Linked DNA regions of Homo sapiens: regions 1 and 3 are each linked to region 2. Evidence: promoter capture Hi-C in human tissues and cell types (Jung and others, 2019). All regions are on one chromosome and are shown on one strand. Each heading gives the region's core, a stretch centred on a gene start or on the middle of the fragment in contact. The rest is flanking DNA. Distances are from core to core; before and after follow the strand shown.

What was found. The method cuts DNA at HindIII sites, captures the fragments that hold promoters and counts their contacts. A contact is called where the count stands out against the background at its distance.
Region 1: a fragment that was not itself captured here is called in contact with the fragment with the promoter of SH3D19 in region 2 in 2 of the 25 tissues and cell types used here (mesenchymal stem cells and thymus).
Region 3: a contact is called between a fragment that was not itself captured here and the fragment with the promoter of SH3D19 in region 2, in 1 of the 25 tissues and cell types used here (lymphoblastoid cells).

What each region holds. Positions count from the first base shown.
Region 1 is chr4:151,928,107-151,931,193 of GRCh38, forward strand. The region is part of intron 3 of LOC127898557 (a long non-coding RNA gene); the gene reads left to right. The region is part of intron 3 of LOC127898556 (a long non-coding RNA gene); the gene reads left to right. Among named protein-coding and RNA genes, the nearest start is that of LINC03074, 26 kb to the right of the region's middle. The HindIII fragment of the contact is 3,585 bases long and covers 1-3,079 here.
Region 2 is chr4:151,323,719-151,327,115 of GRCh38, forward strand. SH3D19 (SH3 domain containing 19) reads right to left here and starts at 1,887. Exons shown (of 20, transcript NM_001378122.1): 1 at 1,523-1,887. The coding sequence starts at 1,634. The HindIII fragment of the contact is 31,894 bases long and covers 379-3,397 here.
Region 3 is chr4:152,037,931-152,041,126 of GRCh38, forward strand. No RefSeq gene overlaps it. Among named protein-coding and RNA genes, the nearest start is that of LINC02273, 61 kb to the right of the region's middle. The HindIII fragment of the contact is 6,310 bases long and covers 1-3,196 here.

The sequences.
Region 1 (3,087 bases), core at 37-2,536, 600 kb after region 2:
ATAAGGGGAGAAAAAAGCTCTTCTTTTTAAGTCAAGCTGGAGAATGAGTGTGTCAGAACACCCAGGAGAGATATTCAAGCTTCTAGCTCCATCTTAGATTGCAATCTGATGTCTGATGGGACCTGGGTCTCACTAGCAAGATATGGCAGGTACTTTTCAGCTGTTTTCTGATGGGAAGCCAAGCTGCGGAGTCGGGCGAGGAAGCTATGTGTACCTGCAAGTTCTGGTGGATGAGACCACAGGCGTTTGCACATCCTGCATGTTAAGCTGTTGACCTAGAGACCTGCAAAGTTCCAAGGAGCTCGTTTCTGCTCAGAGAAAACAGCTCTGATTGGCAATAGCAGCTAATGAATTCTTACTTGGAGGCAAACATTGACTTCACCTTTGAACCCCAAAGAACCTTTGGAAAGCTCAGAGCTTTTTAAGGAATTTTACCTTCAGGCTGAGGATTTTAGGCCACATAACGTCAGTGGAATGATGAAAGGTCAGCATCCTAGTATCCTGCAGACAGAGGACTTGAGGAGTGTGGGGTCAGCAACCAGCCCCTCAAATGGGTCAGTGCTCAAGCCAGCTGCTAATCCCATTTAAAGACATTGCTAGCACTGAAGGTTCATGTGACCTCATAGATGCCATTGATGTTAGAATCAGAGAGGCTTGTGACCATTTCCTCTTGTTTTACTGAGGAAGAGGATGAGGATCAGGGAGGTGCCCATGGTCATTGTCTTGTTTACAACACAGCTCAAATATTTCCTGGTCAGAAATATCCAGGACTAGCTTTGGTGATGTGACAGATAAATAGAGCCTAATATTTTGTAGTGAAAATGACCAGAAGCTCTGAAAACCAGAAGCAGATGCAAGTCCACAGGAAGCATGATTAGAATGCCCCTGGCACACCTGCTGTGGAACGCAAGGTGGGAGAGACTCAGGTGGGAGCATTCCTCACCTCCCACTAGGAGCATCTGCCCAAGGACTGATGCGCGCCTGGCCAAAATGTCTTGACATGAACTTCCAAGCATTGAAGGGAAGGCTGATGGCCCTGCAAGACATGGAAAGGAATGCCAGTTGTAGACTGCAGGCTCATCAGTGAGCGCAGGACTGTTGCCACTCAAGCACCACCACCACCATGGCCAGACGTTGAGAAGCAAGAAGACAGAAATAAAGAGGCAGAAAGAAGGACATGAAAACCTACCTGATGGAACAATAGTGAAAAGTCCAGAGAGGCTTGCTCAGAACTCTAGCCTTTGTCACTTTGCAGGTTTATAGTTATTCCTTTTAGAGGGTTTTTATTGTGCATGTGTGTATTACCAGTGAATATTGAGCAAGCATTTACTGGGTATCAATTTTGTCTAAGGCACTATGCTGGAGCAGTGAATATGACACAATCCCAGACTGGAGAATCTCTAGACAATGCCATGTGAAAAGTGCCGTAGAAGGAGTCTGAGGTGCCATAGAATGACAGTGGGAAGGGAGTACCAATGTCTAACTGCAAGAATCAAGCACTGCTTTAAAGAGAGTGACATATGTACTCAGTCTTCTACTTCACAGGGTGAAAGAATGGGGCTTTGTGTTCTAAGCCAGGAGTCAATATGCAAACTTTTTCTCTAAAGAGCCAGATAGTAAATATTTCAGGCTTTGCAGGTCATAAAATCTCTGTTTCAACTACTAGAGTAGTTGCAAAAGCCACTGTAGACAATACATTAATGAACGGATGTGTCTGGGTTCCAATAAAACTTTATTTACAAAAACAGGCATCAGGTCAGAATAACCTGAAAGTCACAGTTCATCAACTGGTATTCTAACCCCTTGATGAGCCAAATCCCATTTAATGCTCACAACAACCCACTTGGGTAGGTACAGATGAAAGAGAACTTAGGCAACTTGTCCAGAGCAATACAGCAAGTAAAGGGCTGAGGCAGGATTTGAACTCAGGCCATCTGCTTTCAGAGTCAAATCCCCAACCCCTCATGCTTCCCTTATTTTTAAGATAAGCTTATAAATAATCATCACAACATCCCCCAATCCCATTTCTTCCTCCCCTCTCTGTCCCTTCTGTCATTTCCTTGCTTCTGTGTTTTTTTTTTTTTTTTTTTGCCCTTTATTTTTCGAAAACAAACAAACATATTTTTTGAACTTCTATAATTTGCCCAGCACAGTGCCAGGCACTTTGGAGAAAACATCGACAGAAGATAATACAGAATCCCTGCATTCCGTTGGTTTATCATCCCATCAAAGACCCAAGGCACATAGAAAAGAATAAGAAAGTGTTGGGGGAGGCAGGAAGCCTCCTTCCTGCTCTGGGGAGCTTGTCCTAGGTAGAGGGGGTTCACCTGTGTGACTCAGCTGGCCATTCTCCATCCAGCTGTCCCCAGAAAGGAGGAGTGTGATGTTTTAACTGGAGAGCCATGAAGAGGAACAGGGCACACAGAACCACGCTCCCTTCCTTCCCCTTCCTGTTAGGAGCCAGGCTGCCCACAAGAAGTGCTTGCTTTGCTCTCTCCTCTGTGATCATTGGCAAGGGCGGGGATCTGTGCCCCAGGGAAGAGCTGTCCCCAGTGCTGCCTGTGACAGGGTGACTAGGCTGTGAATTCTGCTAGTCTAATAGCACATTTATCAACAATGAAGATGTTATTTTGGTCTCCACATGCCCTATTCTTTTGTCTTATTTCTCAATTAGTTTGTGACTTGCTGGCAATGCCTGGCATTATTAACCAGGCCTATTGAATCCCCCAACAGCTGATGCCAGAGAGCATGTGAGAAGTGCCCTCTGCTTCCCCCTTCCTCTGAAAAAAGGACACAGATTGCTGGTCAGAGTTTGGAGGAGGGAGAAGAGGTCTCTGTGGCCTTGGAGGGAGGTTAGGAAGCTTGGATAGCTTCACTGAGGAAACAGACAAGTCTTCAGGGAGAAATATCGTTCAGAAAGGCTAATCTTAGAGCACATGTTTGTTGCTGTTTGGAATCAGGACCTCGAGGTCCCCATACTTCGAAGAATTTTCTCAGGACCTCTTCTCTGGGAAGAAGAAATTCTGCCTCAGAAACTTTGTATGGACACAAAGGATGATTTTAAACGTCCAGAGTGTGCATTGAATG
Region 2 (3,397 bases), core at 637-3,136:
TGAGAAATTAGGGAACTGGTGAAAACTAATTACAAAATGTCATTTCCACCAGCTTTGGAATAAATACACATATTGCAACTAAATGATAAACACACATCTGGATCACATCTAGTCTGAACTCCAAAACAGGTCTTCACTGTACAGTCTCTTGTGAGAATGAAGCTTTCTGCTGAAGGTAACAGGAATCTAAGGTGGCCTACCCTGTTTAAATCCATAGGTCAGGCATGGCGGTATATCTTTGTAAAGTTTTTTCATTGTACTCTTGCAAGAAATATTCACTTATATCCAGCAACTATTCATTATTTCACAAGGTTTGGGTTTACACTGAACAAAATTACCAATTATGTTCAAAACTGGTGTTCATATAGACAGCCAAATGCCTTATTTTGATGAAAAGTTGTAATAATGAGCATGGAGAATTATTTTTATGTTCCAAGATTCTACCAAAGGCATTAAATTGACTATTTCTTCAAGATGTTCTTCTCAAGTTTTCCTTTCATCCTACTTTCTACCCTCCATTTGTTCCGCACAGATACAATATCTTCTCTATTTTTCCAACTTTCTCTTAGTGGTTAAGGGAGTCACACAGAAAAGCTTCTCCACTTCATGGAATATTCGCTATATTCCACTTTATAATGAGGCTCTCAGTGAATCGTTCTCCTCCGACTCTCTCACTTCCCTATCTCCCTTTTGTTGCCAGTCCCCCTAGGTTTGTTCTTCCCTCTTGTTTTCAGATAACTCGGATTACCCAGTTGGAACCAAAGGCCAAAGAATGTCCTCTCTATTATGTTTGATTGAAAAGCCGCCCGGAAGAGGGAAGGGGTGTGGATCTACACTTATTCACTCTTTCACTAATGTGCCAAACTATTTGATCCGTGCCGCTTTTGTGTACCCAAAACACAGTATCATAAAAGTAATTACAGGCCCGAAAATGATTCTCAGCCCAAATGAATGGCCTTTTGGAATGCTATATTCTGGACTTCTCTTTGCGTGGGGGAGGGTCTCACAACTAACGAAAACAAGTCCTACAGAAAACTGGTGAGCTCGGCGGCTGGGGGAGGGAGGGAGGGGGGTCACAGGTCCGAAGTGCAAGGGACGCCGAAACAGGACTTGCCTCAGTTATGAGCACGTGCTCTGACCTGGCTGCGGCGGCGCAGGCAAACCCCTCGGAAGGTGTCGTTGTCCACCGAGACGGCCATTGACCTCTGACTCATCCAGAGATAAGTCATCAACCAGGCCACAAGTCCCAAGCCAGCAGCTCCTGGATTTAGTGTGCACGGAAAATTTGAGTTTCAGCTGTACGACCACTAGCAGTTAAAGACGGGTCTGAATTTCCTCGGGCTCGGCCGGAAAGTGAGGATGGCGATGGAAATGCCACCCTCCCCGAGTCTGGCCTCTGAGAGTTAAAGAAGCCGGTCCCATCCCGGCGCGTGAAGGAGCTGCCGCTGTGTGGGGCAGGACCCGAGCGGCCCCAGAGCGCGCAGCTCTGGGTCCCCGCCGCCCCGTCCCCCGCGCCTCTCACCTGCGGCCGAGTGGCCCGAGAGCGCACGGCCCCGGGCGCGGCGCTGGCCACCAAGTTCGCGGCGCTCGCGTAGCTCTTCCTCCTCGTCCTCCCGCCGCCGGCCCTCAGCCATGGGCGAGGCGCGGGGCGCAGCCGCGGGATGGCCAGCGAGCTGCGGCCCCGGCGCCCCAGAACGCCTGCACCCGGCGCCCCACGCCACCGCCCTCGGGCCGGGGGGAAGGCGGCTCCCGGAGAGGAGGCGTCGGCGGCGGCTGTGGAAATGGCCACCTCCGCGAACTCCACCTGCAGCCGGCCGGGCAGCGGCAGGGCGCGGGCCGAGCCGATTCCCCGCCTCCTTGCGGCGTCCCGGCGGCCTCTTAATCCCTGGCCTTTCCCACTCCCACTCCCGCTCTCTTCCCCCTTCCTCTTTGCCTTCCCCGCCCCGTAGAGCTCCACCGCGGATCGGGCGGGTTCGGGGCTGGCCTCGCCTCCTCAGGGAGGGGTTATCGGCCCCTAAGGCCGCCCCACAGCCACACACGCTGGAAACACCAGCTCGACCCAAACAAACGTGTGCAAAATAAATAAACGGGATAGGAAGAGGGGAAAGAGGAGGTGGCCTGGCCTCTTCCTGCCTTTTCACGATATTCCAGTGTCAACAGGAAACCCATTTGTTTGACACTTAAACAAAAAGAGGAGGAACCCGACCGGGGCCGAACTGGGAGAGATGGGACAGCTGGGAGCTGCTGAACTTTGGAACAAACTTGGCTTGGAGTTGGGTCGAGCCTCTGCAATGCACACTTTTTTCTTTCCCTCTCTTTTCGCCCTTAAAAACCTAGACTTGCGGGAGCACAGAGGATTTTTAGGGCAGTGAAACTACTATGCGTATGATTCTGTAATAGCGGATGCCTTTGTCCAAGCCCAAAGAATGTACAAAACCAAGAGTGAACCGCAATGTAAACTATAGACTTTGGGTGATTATGAGGTGTCAATGTGGGTTCATCAATTGTAGCAACTGTGGCACTCTGGTGGGGGATGTTGATAATGGGGGAGGCTATGCATGTGTGGGAGCAGGGGGTACATGGGAAATCTCTGTACCTTTAGCTCAATTTTGCTGTGAACCTAAAACTGTTCTTAAAAATAGTCTAGTAAGACTGGAAGCGGTGGCTCATGCCTGTAATCCCAGCCCTTTGGGAGGTCGAGGCGGGCAGATCACGAGGTCAGGATATCGAGACCATCCTGGCTAACACGGTGAAACCCCGTCTTTACTAAAAATACAAAAAAAAAAAAAAATAGCCAGGCGTGGTGGCGGGCGCCTGTAGTCCCAGCTACTCGGGAGGCTGAGGCAAGAGACTGGCCTGAACCCAGGAGGCAGAGCTTGCAGTGAACGGAGATCGCACCACTGCACTCCAGCCTGGGCAACAGAGCGAGAGTCCTTCTCGAAAAAAAAAAAAAGTCTAATAAAAATGTTTAATAATAAATCAAGCCTCACTGTATTCCAGTTCATTTAGGGCTAGGATATGGCTACAATTCCTAGAAGAACAGGAAGAAATGTGTTAAAGAGACCCATACGTGATTATTTGTAGAGAGGCAACTAGGGGAAGTGGAGAGACCACTGGCTCTGGAGTCAGAAACTGTAATTTGAAGCACTTAGCTGTGTGAGCTACCCCTAAGAAAGTTTTTCAAAGCTGGAAAGAACCGTGTAACCAAAGTTGTGTGTACCTGCACAATACACATCTTAGGTTCAGTAGGTGCACGTACTTACTTTCACACAGAGAGGAAAAGATTCTGGAATTTCACCAAAAGATACCCAAGTAGCAGGCAGAAATATTACCTGGACATGAAACCTTAGGAAATTCCTGAGTGCGATGAACAGGCCTTTATCTTTGGCGTCTTGCT
Region 3 (3,196 bases), core at 385-2,884, 710 kb after region 2:
TTGAGTTGGTGCTGTGAGTCCCAGTCGGGCTAAAAGGACTGGCTCTGAAATTTAGGTTAAAATCTTGACCCCATCACCAGCTAGCTCTATGGCTTTGGGCAAGGGGCTCAGGTTGGCACATTTTTCTCAGCACAGAAATAATATTACCACTACCACAGGATTATTTAGTGAATAGCCCCTGTAAGTGAATCCTGTAAGGTATTCAGCATAGTCCTTGGCACTTAAGAAGTGCTTAGTGACTGTGAGCCACTTCTTCCATCGCCTCTGTGTATTGAACTGGACTTTTCATCCTGGCCCCTCACTAAGATTTTAACTCATCTAGTAAAGGAAGCCTTCTGCCCTGGGTGCTGGGATTGGCACCATAAAGAATGGGTCTTGCCCTTGAGGAGCTGAGAGTTTATTTTCAGCATTTAAATATTTAGACTCACAAGACGTTGAGCAAGTGATTTCACCTCTCTGTGCCTGAGTGTGTGGAAGGTGAACAGTAAGCAACCTTCCAACCCAATGTGTCCATGAGTCTTAATGTTGGCTGGAACTCAGCTACAGACAGAAGGAAAGAATGATTAGTCACTATGCTGGTAAACATAGCAAGGTTATCTCCTTTTATTAATAGACTAGGCTACGCAAGTCACAAAAATAGGGTAGCTTCAAAACTTAAATTCTTGGAATTTTAGTTTCTGTTGCATCTGATGAAACGTGAAAAGGGACTTGTGTTGTGTATGGACTTTGTAAAATGATCTTCTATCTCTTGGTGCAAATCAATTACTTATTAGTTTTTATTGCCAAGGAAAGGAAAATATATTACCATTCATTTTAGTCTTTTTCTTATCGATTCTGTGAGCACAGTGATAGTTGTTTAAAGAAAAATGATTACATTTATTTGTTCACTACAAAAGACCTATACCACATTATAGAAAATTCAAAAAGGGAAAAATCAGAAGAAAAAAGAGCTTTCCACACTAGTCAGCAACTGTTGGTGTTTAAGTGTTCTTTCATTTTTCTTCTGAATATTTTTGCATCGAGTATTGCATTTTCACTAAACACTAAGTAATAAACATTTACCATATTCGTACATGGATTTTATAATGATTTTGAATTGTAGAATAATATTCCCATGAGGGACATCTGGTTCCTTTGACCATTTTCCTACTCTTGTCTTGTTAGAAGGCAGCAGAGCAGGGTTTCCATGGGATGTGGTACCAGGGCTGGGTTGAGACGTGGCTCTCTCATTTCCTAGCAGTGTGACCTCGGTTAGGCCACTGAATCTCTCCAGGCCTAGATGTCCTCATCTAGGAAAATACAGGCTATATTAGTTCCAATCTCGTCAGGTCATTGTGAAGACTACATGAGATCATGTACGTAGAAAGCTCACGAGTATCTGGAACGTCGTCGAGTTTGCTGATGTTAGTGGCTGCTGCTACGTAGCCTACATTCCAATCTGACGACTGGTTTGATTTTTATAAACATCCTCCAAGAAAATGCACGTGGAATACCAGGCCATGTCATTTCATCTCTCATGTCACTTTATCTTTTGAGATCCTCATTTGCAAAGTGAGATGGTCAGACTATACAGTGTGACCCCAAAGGCCCCCTTCCACCTCCAACGACGGTGATTCTTGGCTTATGCTAAAAGCAGCTATAACCACTGCAGGGAAATGACCTATGGAAACCACAGCCTTGCCCATGAAGAAGGAAACCTGCAAGGGCCTGAGGGCTTGTGCACATCAGTTTATCTTTTAGTCCAGATAAACATTTGACATTTGTTCCGACACCTTCCTTCCAAGGGCTTCTCACAGTTCAGTCTGTGTGCTTCTCAGATCTCCATTTTTCAAATGGGTTCAGCAGCCGGTGCGCTCATCCAAAGTTTTATTTATCCATTCCACATTTCTAATGTCGCTTCGCTGCTGTGATCATTTTCCTATGTGGTCATTTAAGGAAGATAAATTGAACTGCAAATCTCAGTAGAATAGGCATTGCTCTTAGTCATTCCCCAAGGGACAGAGAAGATTTTTCTCACTCTTAGCACCACCTGCTTGTGCTCTCCCTATAATCTCCCAAGAGGAGTTTTTAATTAAAAAAAAATTATTTGGACAGCAGAGTAGTTGGGTGAGTTGCCTCCCTGGTCCATGCACTGTTACCCCTAACATTCAGACTTCTCAGATCCCAAAACCAGGTGCTGAAAGGGACTGAACTAATCTCACCTTAGGATCAGAGGTGCCCCTGCCAAGAAGCAGATGTCATTAGCATAGAACTGACAGCCACAAAAGCTTCCCACCCACCACCTCTGGCCTTCTGTTCCCAGAAAATTTCAGTGGCGTCAGCTTTCCCATCCAGAGAGCCTCTCCAGTGGGCACATTAGACAGGAAACATTAGGATGGAGAAGAAGCCTGGCACACAGGGACATCCACTGGGATGCAGAATACAGCGTGAGTTTTTGTTTCTTTGGTGTTTTCGGCTTTTTTTTTTTTTTTTTTTCCAAATGGAGTCTCGTTCTGTTGCCCAGGCCGGAGTGTAGTGGTGTGATCTCGGCTCACTGCAGCTGCAGCCTTTGCCTCCGGGGCTCAAGCGATTCTTTTGCCTCAGCCTCCTGAGTAACTGGGATTACAGGTGCCCACCACCACACTTGGCTAATTTTTGAATTTTTAGTAGAGACAGGGTTTCTCCATGTTGGCCAGGCTGGTTTCAAACCTCTGGCCTCAAGTGATCTGCCTCCCAAAGTGATGGGATTACAGGCATGAGCCACCGCACCCAGTCCAGCATGAGTATTAAGGTTAAGTATGTGGGCTCTGGATCCAGGCTGCCTAGATTTGAATCCTTGCACTGTTTATTCTGCGTGACCTTAGGTAGGTTATTTAACCTCTCTGTGCCTCCATTTCCAAAATGAGAATAATATTAATAGAAGAGCTTTTCATAAGGCATGTGAGGATTACATGAGTTAGCACATGTAAAAAAACATAAAACATGCCTGGCATATCCCAAAGGTGTGGTAAACAGGAGCTCACACCATGAGTGATTGAGGACTATGTGCTCAATGAGTGAATCCCATCCTTTCTGTAAGGGGCAGTCAGTAGTAGTAGGAAGAGTGTGGGTTTTAAGGAAAGACCTGAGTTTGCATATCACCTCCAGTTTGTGTTTAACTTTAAATAAATTCTAGACTTCCCATACCCTCAGTGTCCTCATCTGTTAAATGGGAACA